Regions from separate parts of the Homo sapiens genome. Here region 2 is linked to region 1. The links are contacts of gene promoters, found by promoter capture Hi-C in human tissues and cell types (Jung and others, 2019). All regions are on one chromosome and are shown on one strand. The core of a region is centred on a gene start or on the middle of the fragment in contact, and the rest is flanking DNA. Distances in the headings are between cores, read along the strand shown. Region 1 holds the start of MED13 (mediator complex subunit 13). Region 2 has its middle 13 kb from the start of TBX4.

Region 1 (7,253 bases), core at 2,558-5,057:
ATGCTCTGCCAACTTTATTAAGAAGACCAAAGCCCCTAAGTCACCATTATAGTTTTATCAATAATTATGTTTTATCAACAAATATATTTTATCAATAGTTTATAGTTTTTCAACAATGTTATACAGTCTCCAAACATTCTAGTAAGGTGATTTTTATGACCACTTAACGATTAAAATAACTCAAATACTATATCCAAAACAATGAAAGAAAAAGGAGGCTGGCGGACTTAGCTTTTGGCATAATTAGAAAGTATTGTCTCGCTAAAACTACCATATATACATACATCATGTATATGTACATATATGTATATACATATACACATCACTTTACACATTTAGAACTACATTAAATACACACAACTAAGGACTGGACTCTGCAGCAGGCATCTTATTAGAAAAACTACAAAAGCTGGAAAGCTTTCTTGAAGAATTGCAGTCACTCTCAAAAATAACAATTAACACTGGAGAGTATGTTCATTAGAATGTGAAAAGCAATTATCAAAACATACAAATGTAACACGTACATTCCTACATAAATGTTGGTCTTACTAAGTACCAGTTCAAGATACAGACACCTAGAATACATTCTATCCAAAAATAAAATAGATCCTATAGGTCAGAGATACAATAACAAAAACTTCAGAGTACTCAATTTCAAATAAGAACTTAAAAAAAATTATCTAGAAATCCTAAGTTTATCTGTCAAAAATCATTATCAAACTATCTTACTGAAGTCTTTGGAACCTTATAGCATACAACCAATCATTTATATTCCTATTATCTAAGATTCAGTTAATACTGACTTTCACAATTTAAAGCTTCAGTAATTATATGAAAAGCTATAGTTTCTCTTTCTAAAGTAGCATTTGGTCCTAAAAGTCAAGAAAATAAGGAAGTAATCACATTGATTTGCTCACAATAAAATTGTTTGTGTAACCTTTTAGATTATGATCCCATGTCCCATAAAAGCTAAACAAGTTGGCACTTTTCTCTTATTATGTTTGACAGAACAGTATATGAGTCACTTTCCAAAAATAACTAAATTAACATATGCCTTCATAAGTTAATCAAATAGCACAAATGACAATAACAAAATACATGCCTTAAAACACACACACACACACACACACCACACACACACACACACACACACACACGGATAGTTACATTTCCAGTACTTTTAGAATCATCTGCCTATTCAATGCAAAAGACTCAACTTCAGCAGTGGCTGAAGTGACTCAAAAGTTACATCTGGCTTCTAAACTATTACACGACTTTGTTAGGAACTCTGTTTCCTGATTCCATTTTTTTAGATTAATGTAACATGCCTTCTTCGGGCCCTAACTACCTGTGAGAAATTAAGAAGAGAGGTGGTGGAAGGAGAAAGTCATTCACGCCTTAAAAACCCAGCTATAACAACATGGATAATTTAAGTAAAATAAAATAATCATGGTGAAATAAAACAATGAAGCTGAATTTTTATCTGGCCTCCTAAGTCTCCCACAAAAACAAACTTAATTTGTAATACATATGACATTCTGGGAGAAGTATACAATGTTGCTATATCATTAGTTAGAAATGGAAAGTTTCTTTCACCTGATAAGTCATGGTGAATAAGGTCAGCAAAACTGGGGTCTTCACCCCACCAAAATATCCACAATTCTCTTCTTCCAGGTCTTTGATCTCGCCGCCAAACACCAAGTACATCTGCCTTAAGGCAGCGACTAAAACTGCTCAAAATGGGGTCTTCTTCTGTCACAGGAAACAGAATAGGGGCAGAAGTTGGGCCTTGCCATACATATTTTTTCCACTTAATTCCTGTCAAGTCAGCCTGAAGGAAAGAAAGCATTAAGTTTTATTACTGCATATTCACTCAAAGTCAAAAGTACTCAATATGATGTCTCTTATTTCATTAAGACATTACAATTTTTCAATGTATGCTTGAGATATTGACTGCAAATTAGAACAAAAAAAGACTTTATAATTCAACAACCAAGAATTTTAGGGAGAAGAATACAGTTAAAAATTACCACCACCATGTCACTGAATAGCAAGCAAATATGTACTCCAAGTAGAAACAGAAGAAACTGAATGATGTTAAATATAGACACACACTTCAATATGCAAACAGAGTACATTTTTCTCTGTCCTAACTGGTCACATTTGTTCACTGGTGTCAAACTTTTAACTGAAAATCAATTATTAAAGACCCTATCATGGGTTTTTATTCCACATTTACAGAAGTAACGTCTCTAATGAAAAGACATCTGAACAAGTTCTGAAAAAATCTATGTTAATTCTTCACACACACCCCTGTCGGAAAAGTCAAATAGCTACTCACAAAGAACTGTCAGATTTGTGCTAGTCTATCTTCAAAGAACTGATCCTAAAAGTACCAAAAATAGACTGAGTTGGATAAGATAGAAATATAAAACCTGGTGTATGTCTTATTACATGTGAAGAGATGCTGATTAATGGACATTGAAAAGAAAAACATACTGTAGACGAGGATAGAGTATTAAAGATCTCAATTTAGCATGGGCGTTAAGAAATTCGACAAGAGGAATTCAGTAATTTAATCTAACTTAAAGGAGCAAAGCATAAGGTGCCAAAAATGAAACTGCTGATACATGACTGGCAGTTTACACTTGCCAACTAGTTGTGCTCCTCCCACTTAACTCACTTACCTATCATATACTCTTAATATTTCTCATAGCACAAAGGAGAAAATGAAAAAGTAAAGTCACCCAAACTTAAAGTCATTGATGAAGCTCAGCTACTGTCCCATACAGGACAAGTTATTTGCAACAGTTGGTACTTCTGAAAGCCTTAACTGTTGGATGTTACCAGACCTGGGCTAACCTACACAATGATCATCCCTACATCCCGCTTCTCTCGACTTTCCATTTCAATCAAACAAGGGAGCAGCCTGCTCAAAACATTCTGAAAAAGCAACCAAAACACAATAAATATAGAAACAGTGCAAAACCACAGCACCTCGTCCACTAGCCCCCTTCACTCTCACAAAAACATCATGTTCTAATAAAAGCAAGATGGCTAGAAATTGTCAAAAATGGCAAACTGTTTTCAAAGTTTAAAAAGAAAACATATGAAATGGCACCTACTGGCTTTTACAGAGAGATCTTAAGTCACCCAAGAAAGAAACTAACCTGGCGTTAGTTTGACTCATACAAAAAAAATGTAAAACCAAGACAGGTTTCTAGGGCTTAAGTTCTGGGGTCCTGTTTACATGGGGAAACCAAATTAAAAGGGTAAGACATAAAGGCGGTGGGGAGCAGGGGCAATAATGTAAAGTGTGAAGCAGGGATACAGGGCCAATAAGGAGAAAAGCAACAGTTAAGCAAGACAAGAGGGAAAGGTTACTGTCCTGCCAGATAAGGAGCTCAAGTTGAGGACGAGACTACGGTGAGAAGGAGAGTCCGAAACAAGACGAGAAAAAATGCCAACACTCCCCTAAACAGAGCCCGGGACCGTAGGAGAGCGAACGCCGCCTCCCGGGGCTGGCCGCGGAGCTTCGCAGGGCGCCGGCTCCGGCTGGGCCTCGCCCGGGAACTCGGGCATCTGGACCAGACCCGGCCCCCTCCCCCACGGCCCAAGGGCGCACCTCGCGGCCCCCCTCCCTCGGCGCCCGCCGGCCCCGGCACTCACCAGGCAGAAGAGGTTACAGTGACAATCTTCCAGGCTGGCCCCGTTCGGCACGAAGGAGGCACTCATCGTCCCTCACAGCAGCCGCCGCCGGCGCCACAACCCACCATCCGCCATTACCGCCGCCTCCGACCAGAGAGAGAAACACAGACACCGGGGAGGGCCGGGGGGGGGGTAGTGGTTGGGGGGGCGGTGGAAGAGGAGGCCGCCGGGCGCCCGCCCTCCCCACCCACCCCCCCGCCGCCGCCGCCGCCGCCGCCGCCGCGAGCAGCCCCCGCCGCCCGGCCGGCACCCAGCCGCCCGGGGCCGAGGGCCGGAGGCGGGAGGGCCGCGCCGCGCTCGCCTGGCGGGCCGGACTGCGGATCCCGCAGACGCTCGTCCCTCTCTGGGGGACGGAGGGGATGTGTGCCCCTACCACAAGAAAAATAATAAATTACACAATAAATAATCAAAATCAAGTCCGAGACGGCAGAGCCCAAGCCCAGGACGGTTCTCCCGGGCGGAGAGGCGCCCGCACAGGAGCGGGAAGGGCGAGAACCGGGAGAGAAGCCCAGGCCCCCGGCGCGGCAGCGGCGATGTCCTTAAGCCCAGAGTCTCCTCAGCGGCGGAGGTGGTGGCGGCGTCTGCGGGCTCAGACCATTCTCTGGCTCTGTCTTCGTGTCGTTCCTGGGCCAAGCCGGCCTAAAGTTTGCCCTCCTGTGGCCTCACCGGCTGGACGCCGTAGTCTCCCCCATTTTGTGGGCCCAGCGGGCGGTGTTTTTCCCCCTTTAATCCGAATTCACGGGTTTTCCCTTCGCTTTAATGGCGGCCACAGGGACCAGCTCGCCCTCTCTGCTCACCCATTGGCCGCCTTGAGGTCACGTGGGCCCGGGCTCGGTTGGGAGGGGGAGAGAGAAGTGAGCGAGGGAGGGCCGGGAAGCTTTCGGCGGAGGCGGTGAGCTCGGGGGACGGGGCAGCCAGCTGGTGGCCACTAACATAGCGCCATCTGCTGGGTGCCCCGGCCAGTATAAAACGACCCGGGGCCCTGGCCCTCTCTTTGCGGGGAAATTTACAGTCCAGGAAGGTTCATTTCACAAATCAGTGAGAATTACGTGGAAATCAGTTTGAGTTCTTTGGAAGAGAAAGTATTGGCAAAAATTCCAAGACATTCTCATTTATTTCGCGAGGCCGCTGGGGTGCAGGTGCAAACCTCTGGATTTGGGAGTCAGATGATCTGGATGGGGATAAGACTCCTCAACCTAAAAGTTGTGATATGAAGATATAAATTTAAGAAACAAAATATTGCCCTGTAGTTAATAGACTGGGAATTAGAGCCACACTGCCTGGGTTCCAAGCTTGAGCAAATCACTTCCTGCTCTGTGTCTTTACTCATCTGTAAAATGGGGAAAACATATCCCTTACCCCACAAGCTTATTGTAATGAGTTAATACAAATTAAGCAGGTAGCCCAGTGCCCCGCACAGATAAGCACTGTTAAGAGTTAACTATTATTGTTGTCATCATTACCTCATATAGTTATTGTGACGAGCAGGAGAACTAGTGTATGTAAAGGTCTCACTATTTTTTTGTTGTTTACTTCTGTCTCTCTAGTGCCTAAAAAAAGGTTCCTAGCACACAGTAGGTGCTTGATATTTGTATAGTTACAAATGAATGGGTGGTAAGAAGTAAGAACCAAACAAAAGGTTTATTCTCTTTCCCATAAAACACCCAGTGCTTGGATGGGTTACACTTCAATATGAGTTCAAAACAGTTTCTCTGACGGTTTTAGGATTGCAAGAAAGAAAGAAGAAGAAAAAGATGATTCAGAAGTTAGAAACATCAGTGAGTTAGGACTTACTGTAATTTTATGTATTACAGATACATAATTATGTATTATGTATTACAGATACATAATTGTATCTGTAAAATGAATGGTAGACTCTTCCATGTCACTTCTTCAGCCACGGAATGAAAAGAAGTCCTCATTTATCCACTTGTTCATCTGTGGTGGTGAAGAGCCCAGATCTGAAGCCCAAAGCCTGGAGAAAAAGTTCTGCCCCTCACTAGTTAGTCTTAGATCATATTTGACCTTAGATCAAATTAATTTTGCTTTCTCTCGGTTATTGTAAAATGGGGGTAATAAAAGTACTTTTCTTCTAAAATGACTGGTGAATGAAACAATGTAGATACAGTGCTTGCCACAGTGCTTACTTAATGTTAATTATTAATGTAATTTTAAAAATCATTGAGAACCTGCTGGCTCAATTGAGTGTGTTCCTGCTCTGTGCTAGGCCTAGGATACAAATAGGAATAAGATACCTGCCTGTCCCTCAAGATTCCTGAAGAGAGGCACTAAAGGAAACATTTCCTACAGAATAAGGTAAAATACAATGGGGGTAATTGCTTGAATAAAGTATGTACCTACTATGGCATAGTAAGTGCACTAGAAGAAGAGCATCAAACTTAGAGAAGTTGTCATAAAGTAGGTAGCATTTGAAATCAGATTTGAAGGATAAAATGAATTCTTATAAAGCCCTTTGAAGCAGTTAAATCTTATTAAACCTAATTCGAACCCAAAGTCCACATATCAAAGTCAATTATGCAACCAGGACTAATTCAATCCAGGAGCTCAAATCAACTAAGGTTGGCATCCTTTATAACCGAGTGCCAGCACCAGGAGACAGCAATCCCCAGATCCAATGAGGTAAGCGCTCCTCTGCCCATTTCCCGTTCCCTGAAAAACTCCTCAGATCTTTGTTCCGCTGCTTTCCTCAGGCTGAAATGCCCTCCTCACATCTAAAGGGGTCTCCATTCTCCTTAGAAGTCTTGCCCTCCCATTGCCCCCACCCCCTGACTTGAGCACCATCCTCAGGATTCCAATGGCAGGTAGAATATACCTGAAACCTACCAGTAGGAGGTAACATTTGATTGACCTTTCTGTTTGAATGTCAATCTTTTCAAAAAGAAGAGGGAGACAAGGAGACAGAAGCGAAGAAGGGAGGAAGACCCAGAAGAAAAAGTCTGATGGAGGATCGCAGAAGGGAGCAGGAGAGAGAGAGAAAGACAGGACTGAGAGAATGGAGAAGCAGATTAGAATGGGGGGGATCCCAGTTGTGAGGGGAATGGAATCATTGGGAGAAGGGAAAGAGAAGAAATAAATATTTTCAGCCCACAAAGAACGTATCAGTAACCACTTACATTCGGTAAAAATGACATTTTGTGTGATTTAAAGAGTAATGGAGGCCGGGTGCAGTGGCTCACGCCTGTAATCCCAGCACTTTGGGAGGCCGAGGCGGGCAGATCATGAGGCCAGGAGATCAAGACCATCCTGGCTAACACGGTGAAACCCTGTCTCTACTAAAAACACAAAAAGGCGGGCGCCTGTAGTCTCAGCTACTCGGGAGGCTGAGGCAGGAGAATGGCGTGAACCCGGGAGGCGGAGCTTGCAGTGAGCTGAGATCGCGCCACTGCACACCAGCCTGGGCGACAGAGTGAGACTCCGTTCTCAAAAAAAAGAAAAAGAGAGTAATGGAAATACGGACTTTGGGTATACCATCCTGGTGGGGGATGTTGATAATGAGGGAGGCTGTGTATGTGTGGGGGCAGGAG
Region 2 (7,253 bases), core at 2,135-4,634, 630 kb before region 1:
CAAACACTTCCAGTACTATTTTGAATAGAAGTGGTGAGAGTGGGCACACTTGTGTTGTTCCTGTTCTTTCTTTTTATTATTATTATTATACTTTAAGTTTTAGGGTACATGTGCACAACGTGCTGTTCCTGTCCTTAAAGGAACAGTTTTCAGATTTTCTTTGTTGAATATGATGTTAGATGTGGGCTGTCATATATGACTTTTATTATGTTGAGGTACATTCCTCTATAACTCATTTGTTGAGAGTTTTTAATCATGAAAGGATATTGAATTTTGTCAGATGTTTTTTCTGCATATATTAAAATGATCATATATTTTTTATCCTTTGTTTGTTAATGTGGTGTACTTCACTTATTGTTTTGTATATGTCAAACTGTCCTTGCATCCCAGGGATAAATTCCACTTGATCATAGTGTATAATCCTTTTAATGTGCTATTGAATTCAGCTTGCTAGTATTTCATTGAATGCTGTTTGTTTATTGATTTTCTGTCTGGATATCTATCCAAGATTGAATGTAGCATATTGGAGTCTTCTATTACTATTATATTGCTGTCTGTTTGTCCTTTCAGTTCTATTGTTATTTGCTTTGTATATTTAGGTGTTCCAAAGTTGGGTGTATGTATACTCACAATTGTAATACCTTCTTAGTGAACTGACCCTTTTATCATTCATTATATGATGACCTTCTTTGACTATTGTGACAGGTTTTGACTTAAAGTCCTTTGTGCCTAATATAAGTATAGCTACCTCTGCTCTCTTTTGGCTTCCATTTGAGTGCAATAGCCTTTTCCACCCCTTTACTTTCAGCCTGTGTGTGTCTTAAAGCTAAAGTGAGTCTCCTGTAGGCAGCATATAGCAGGATCTTGTTTTTTAGTCATTCAGCTATTCTGTCTTTTGATTGGTGAAATTAAGTCATTTATATGTAAGGTAATTATTGATAGGTAAGGACTTACTATTGCCATCTAGTTGTTTTCTGTTTTGCAATTCATTTGCTCTTTTCTCTATTGTTGTCTTCCTTTGTGATTTAATAATTTTTTATAGTATTTTGTTTTGATTCCTTTCTCTTTGTATTTTGTGTATCTCCTACAGAATTTTTTCTTTGTGATTACCATGGGATTACAGAAAACATTCTATTGTTATAATAGACTATTTTAACCTGATAAAAACTTAACTTTGATCACATACAAAAACTTTAACTTCTTCTCCCCTACATTTAATATTATTAATATTACTGTTTACATTTTTATAATGTGCATTCATTAGTAAATTATTGCAGCTATAGTCATTTTTAATACTTTTGTCTTTAAACTTTTACACTGGTGGTAAAAGCAATTTACATACTACCATTACAGAATTAGACTATTCTGAATCTGACTATACATTTACCTTTGCTAGCAAGTTTTATACTTTCATATGTTTCTTATGTTTAGTGTCCTTTCATTCCTCCTCCTTCTTCTTCTTTTCCTTCTTCCTTCCTCCCTCTCCCTCTCCTTCTTCCTTCTCTCTTCTTCTTCTTCTTTCCAGTGCTGGCTGATATCCTTTCATTTCAACCTGAAGAACTTTCTTTAGTACTTCTTGTAAGTAGTAATGAACTCCCTCAGCTGGAAAAGTATCTCTCCTTCCTTTCTTAAAAATAGATTTCCTATGTAGAATATTCTTGGTTAGCAGTTGTTTTTGTTGTTTCAGCACTTTGAATGTGCTAGAACATCAACTCATAATGCAAATGTTGTTTTGTTTCATGTTGTCCCATAAGTTACACAGGCCTTTTTCATCCTTTCTTCTTATTGTTGCTCTGATTGGATAATTTCAAATGATCTGTCTTTGAGTCCACTGCTTCTTTCTTCTGCTTGAGTCCCCTGTTGAAGCTCTCTATTGAATTTTTCAGTTCATTCATCATATTCTACAGCTCCAGAATTTCTGTTTAGTTCTTTTTTATGATTTCTATCTTTTGGTTGAATTTCTCATTTTGTTCTTGTATTGTTCTCCTGATTTTGTTTAGTTGTCTGTGTTCTCCTGTACCTCAGTGAGCTTAAGTCACTTATTTTGAATTATTTATCAGGCAATTCATAGGTCTCAATTTCTTTGGGATCAGCCACAGGAGCTTTATTTTGTTCCTTTGGTGGTGTCATGTTTTCTTAATTCTTCTTGTTCCTTGAAGTGTTGCATTTCTGTCTTTGAAAAAGCAGTCTCCTCTTCCAGTCTCTACTAACTGGCTTTGGAAGAGAAAGACATTCACCAGACAATCAAGAGTTTGACGTCTTTCAGGCCTTTTCTATGGATTCACCTGCCCCACTCTCTTGTTCCCCCTTGTGGGGGTAAGGCTTAGGATTGTGTGCCTACTCTCAATCCTGTAAAGTCAGGCCAGGTGTGGAGGGCCTCCTCTTAATTTTCTCCAGGAAAGTGCCTTGAAGTGTTCAAGATTGTGCACCTTCTCTCAACCCTGCAAAGTTGAGATAGCTGCTGATATCTATGTGCTGTCTGTGGGGATTTGCATGTGTCCTCTGTGGTGGCTTGCACTCACTATCTGTGGAGGCTCAGGTGCTCTGTCTCAGGAACGCATAAATGCCATCTGAGGACTTTTGCATGTGCCATTTCAGGGGCACATGCAGAGTGCTGAGGGTGTGAGTCATCCAATTGAAGGTGTTGAAGATGAGGCATCCTACAGGGTTTTCATGGTTTTCAGACTCCTGGTGGAGTCTCAAACCAATTAATAGGGTCTACAGCTGGTTTTTGAGACTTTGTGGTTGCTCCTACCTCCCCCAAGACTTTTAGCTGTGTGATCTTCTGTGATCTGGGTGGGGTGAGGCAGAAGTGAGCCTCTTGGGTAACAACCTGTGAGGCTGGGGAAGCTGGACACTCACTTCACTCTCACTATCCCCCATCGAAGAAACTGTGGACTTGGGCACTGAGCCATGCTGCCTTGGGAGTAGGGTGATGTGGGTTAAGTGAAACTGTTCTTCCTCTTTTTCTTTTTTTTAGGTGGAGTCTCGCTCTTGTTGCCCAGGCTGGAGTGCAGTGCTGCAGTCTCAGCTCACTGCAACCTCCGCCTCCTGGGTTCAGGTGATTCTCTTGCCTCAACCTCTGGAGTAGCTGGGACTACAGGCACCTGCCACCATGACCAGGTAATTTTTTTTTTTTTTTTTTTGGCAGAGTCTCACTCTGTCACCCAGGCTGGAGTGCAGTGGTGTGATCTCGGCTCACTGCAACCTCCGCCTCCCAGGTTCAAGCTATTCTCCTGCCTCAGCCTCTCAGGTAGCTGGGATTACAGGGGTGTGCCACCACGCCCGGCTAATTTTTTGTATTTTTAGTAGAGACGGGGTTTCACCATGTTGGCCAGGCTGGTCTCAAACTCCTGACCTCAGGTGATCCGCCTGCCTCAGCCTCCTAAAGTGCTGGGATTAGAGGCACGAGCCACTGTGTTCTTACCTTCATCAACGCATCTAGTCTTAGTTGTTTTTTCTTTTCTTTCTTTCTTTCTTTTTTTTTTTTTTTTTGGCTTAAACAGAGTTCTATAATTGCTTCACTGGACTCCTGGTTTCCTACTTGAGGTACTCTTCTTGTCCATGGATGGTTGTCAAAATTGATGTTTCTATGGAAGTATGAGGACTGGAGTCTCCTATTCCACCAGCTTGCTGTCATCACTCTGGCAAAAATGTCAAGTGGTTATCTCTTTTGTTTTCTTTGCAGTCTGCCATAATTACCAGATTCTTTCCAATGAGGACATTTTACTCTAAAGTAGTAGTAATACCATGGACAATGAATGAGTCTAATCTTTTTCAATCAAGTTCATTTCACTTTCAAGTAAATCTATTTACTCTGTAGTGTTGTAAATGCTTCCCAAATATTTAATAACTTGAAGTAAATGAGTATTATTTTGCTCATTTTACAGATGAGGAAACTGAGGACCAGAGAAGCTAAGTAGATCACCCAAGGTAATACCTGAGATGTATGGACCCAGTGGCCAAGCTCAACCACCATGTCATGCTGTCCTCAAACCCTCTGGGCCAAATTGCACATAGTTTACAGCCTGTCCCAGGCTGACAAGGAGGTGACAATTGCACTAAGCTTTATGATTCTGAAACCTGGAATCTGGAAGCCATGGAATTCCAAAAGTCTGAAGAGGCCCCCTCTTAATTGTGTGGCTTTGGGAAAGTCCCTTACCTCCCCTACGCCTTGGTTTCCTTATTTGTAAAATGTGGGTGATACCATCTGTATTCTTTCCTACTCCTCAGGGTTGTTATGAGCTCAGGTATATGTGAAAATGTTACATAAACTGTGAAGGATGTAGGTAGGCAGGAAATCAAGGGAGAGATATCAAAGAGATGCTGTGTGAACAAAGGTGCATTAAAAGGACTGTGAAGGCCATTGTGAGGGAGCTGTGTGAAAGGGAATTTGGTTCCTGAGGAGGAGCAGTGGGACTGGGGTAGAAACAGGTTTGGTGTTAAATCCTGGAGGACTTTAATGTCAGGTGATGCACTGGGATGTTACTGACAGTGAAATAAGGAGGGTGGGCTATGAAGAGTCATCCACTGCAAAAATACAGCATGATTGTCGGGTTGTCTTCAGCCACTCTGCTGGGCCTCTAGGCCCGACTCTTGAGTGAGTCTGAGAGAGGGAGCTCCCCAAGACAGGCCCTCTGGGCAGGTGAGGATTCCAGTGGTGTATAGTGACTTGCTGGCAAGTTTTAGTCAATGCCCATGAGAGGGAAGCTGGCACAGGAGGCCAGCATTATGGTTCTTTCCAGAAGCCCAGGAAAACCAGAGTGTGAGCCTCTCCCATTTGGTGGGTCCTTCCAATTTATGGTAGCCAGCTCATTTGATTCTCCAACAGCCTGGAATGGAGATGAACTCTTATCTTCCCTCCACTAATCTGCTCTTCCTAATGTCACCAGTGACTCTAACTTCCTCCTCCTCGAATCCTCCTTAATACAGTTGCCAGTAGTTTACATTGCTGACTTCTCCCTTGCTCCTAAAAAGTTCTTTTGCGACCAGGATTGCACTCTCTCAGCCAGTTTTTTAACTGATTCTTCTCAGGCCCCTTTGCTGATTTCCTTTCTTTTCCACACCCTCCAAGATTCCATTCTTGGTCTCCTTTTCTTTTTCAATGAATTCTCCCTCAGTGGCCTCATCAACTACCAGTATGAATGCCCACTGTGTACTCATGTGTCTCAAATTGTGATCTCCAGACCCTGTATTTCTTATCATGACTAAAATGAAACTCATCTCTGCCCATACTCACTGCCTATTCTCTCACTTAATGTCATCACAACCACAAAAGGTTCTGTGTCAAAGCTGTGACAATGTACCTGGTTGGTTTTAGCAGAGAGGGGATTTTTTGGAAGCATGGGGCAATTCACTGACATGAAGAAAATTCTTGAAGGTCAAGACTCATAAATAATGAAGGCCAGAGCAGCTCTGGGAAGCTGAACAGTGGATACAAGTGAATGGCTTCCCTGGGGAATGAAGACTGAAGAATGTAGTAGAAGAACATTACCTACCATGTAGTGTTTGTTGAATCTAAAATGAACTGTACAGTTAAGGAAGCCGAGGCCCAAAGAGGATGATTCAACTTCCATCCCTTCATTCTTTCTGCCATTAGGCTCGAGATTAGAATTACAGGAAGAAAGCATCTGAATGCACTAACTAGGGTCACATGGTCTTAGCTGGGGGTAAGCACAACCCTTTCAGTGATGGTCCTAACAAATTGTAAATCAATCCTGATATTGTCAATCTTGTTTTTAAAAGCCTCTAGAGAATGATTCTTCCTCCTAAAACTCAACGAGCATTCTGAACCTGAAAAGGGGGGGATGAAGTCTGGGTGTAAAAATATCACAACTGTCCATCATACTCTGGCCCAGAAACATCTTTAACTCCTGCCTCTTCCATACTTCACTTCTCCTAAATATCTTTCTAATAACTTCCCTGCCCTCATAACTCCTTGCTGCCAGTCTCTACCTGCAAATCTATTTGCCCCACTACCAGTCATCTTCTACAATACATTCTGGGCTGGGCGCAGTGGCTCACGCCTGTAATCCCAGCACTTCAGAAGGCCAAGGTAGGTAGATCATTTGAGGTTAGGAGTTTGAGACCAGCCTGGCCAACATGGTAAAACCCCGTCTCTATGAAAAATACAAAAATTATCTGGACGTGGTGGTGGACGCCTGTAATCCCAGCTACTCAGGAGGCTGAGGCAGGAGAATTACTTGAACCCAGGAGGTGGAGGTTGCAATGAGCCAAGATTGCGCCACTGCACTCCAGCCTGGGCAACAGAGGGAGACTGCATCTCAAAAATAACATAACATAACATAACATAACATAACATAACATAACATAACATAACATAACATAAATAAAATAAAATAAAATAAATAAAAAAATAAAATAAAATAAAATCTGATCAGTCCAAGCTTCTCCTTCCCTCCCCCTGCCCCCAAAAAGAACCCTTTATGGTCCCCCATTGCCATTAGCTGAAGTTTTTAATATGGTTTACAAGGTCCTTCCCAAGCCTTATCTTTCCACAAGGCTTCATTTACCACTCCAGCCCCACTACTCCTGAAACAGGCCTCTCTATGCCTATGTCTGTATTCTTCCTTTCTCCTGGATGCCTTTCCCACATTCTCTGTCTCGAAGGATCCCATTCATATTCGTCTTTCATAGATAGCATCAGATCTCACCTCTCATGGAGACTTCCTCAAACAAGCCAGGATGAGTTGGTTAATCCTTCTTTTGTACTCTTTTCACACTCAGTAAGGACTTAAGATTATAGCCCTGAGCACATTTTATTATGGCGTTTGTTTACAAGTCTGTCTTCTTCACTGGACTGGGAGCTCCTCTAAAGTAGGCCCTGAGTTTTCCTTGGCTTTATTGCCCTAGTGCTTAGCATTGTGCCTAGCATGTGGTGTTTGGTGAATTTCAAGTGAGCTGTACCGATGAGGAAACTGAAGCCCAAGGAGAACAAGCTGCACACTTAGAATGAGCAACCTCCCTAATGGCAATCAAGTTGGAGAGACAGTTGTGATCAATCACATTGGGCTTTGTAATCATCTAGGCAGTTGCTAAAGACTGGAAGTAAAGGGTGGTCACCAGCTATCTCCCTTTGCACTTTGAGAAAATAAGGCTCAACAGGCTCAAACTTAAATGGTCAAGAGGGATTTAAATTAAAGAAGAGAAAGACCTTCTTGTTCCTGGGTTTGGTAGACAAAAAAGTGAGCTGACTCAGAACGTTTGTGAACTTTTTGCCTCTGGAGACTTTT

What was found. The method cuts DNA at HindIII sites, captures the fragments that hold promoters and counts their contacts. A contact is called where the count stands out against the background at its distance.
Region 2: a fragment that was not itself captured here is called in contact with the fragment with the promoter of MED13 in region 1 in 1 of the 25 tissues and cell types used here (lymphoblastoid cells).

What each region holds. Positions count from the first base shown.
Region 1 is chr17:62,061,471-62,068,723 of GRCh38, forward strand. It overlaps MED13 (mediator complex subunit 13), which reads right to left and starts at 3,808. Exons shown (of 30, transcript NM_005121.3): 1 at 3,670-3,808; 2 at 1,597-1,831. The coding sequence starts at 3,735. RefSeq lists enhancers at 3,199-3,298, 4,209-4,468 and silencers at 3,449-3,728, 4,519-4,598. The HindIII fragment of the contact is 4,175 bases long and covers 618-4,792 here.
Region 2 is chr17:61,435,663-61,442,915 of GRCh38, forward strand. No RefSeq gene overlaps it. Among named protein-coding and RNA genes, the nearest start is that of TBX4, 13 kb to the right of the region's middle. The HindIII fragment of the contact is 3,704 bases long and covers 1,533-5,236 here.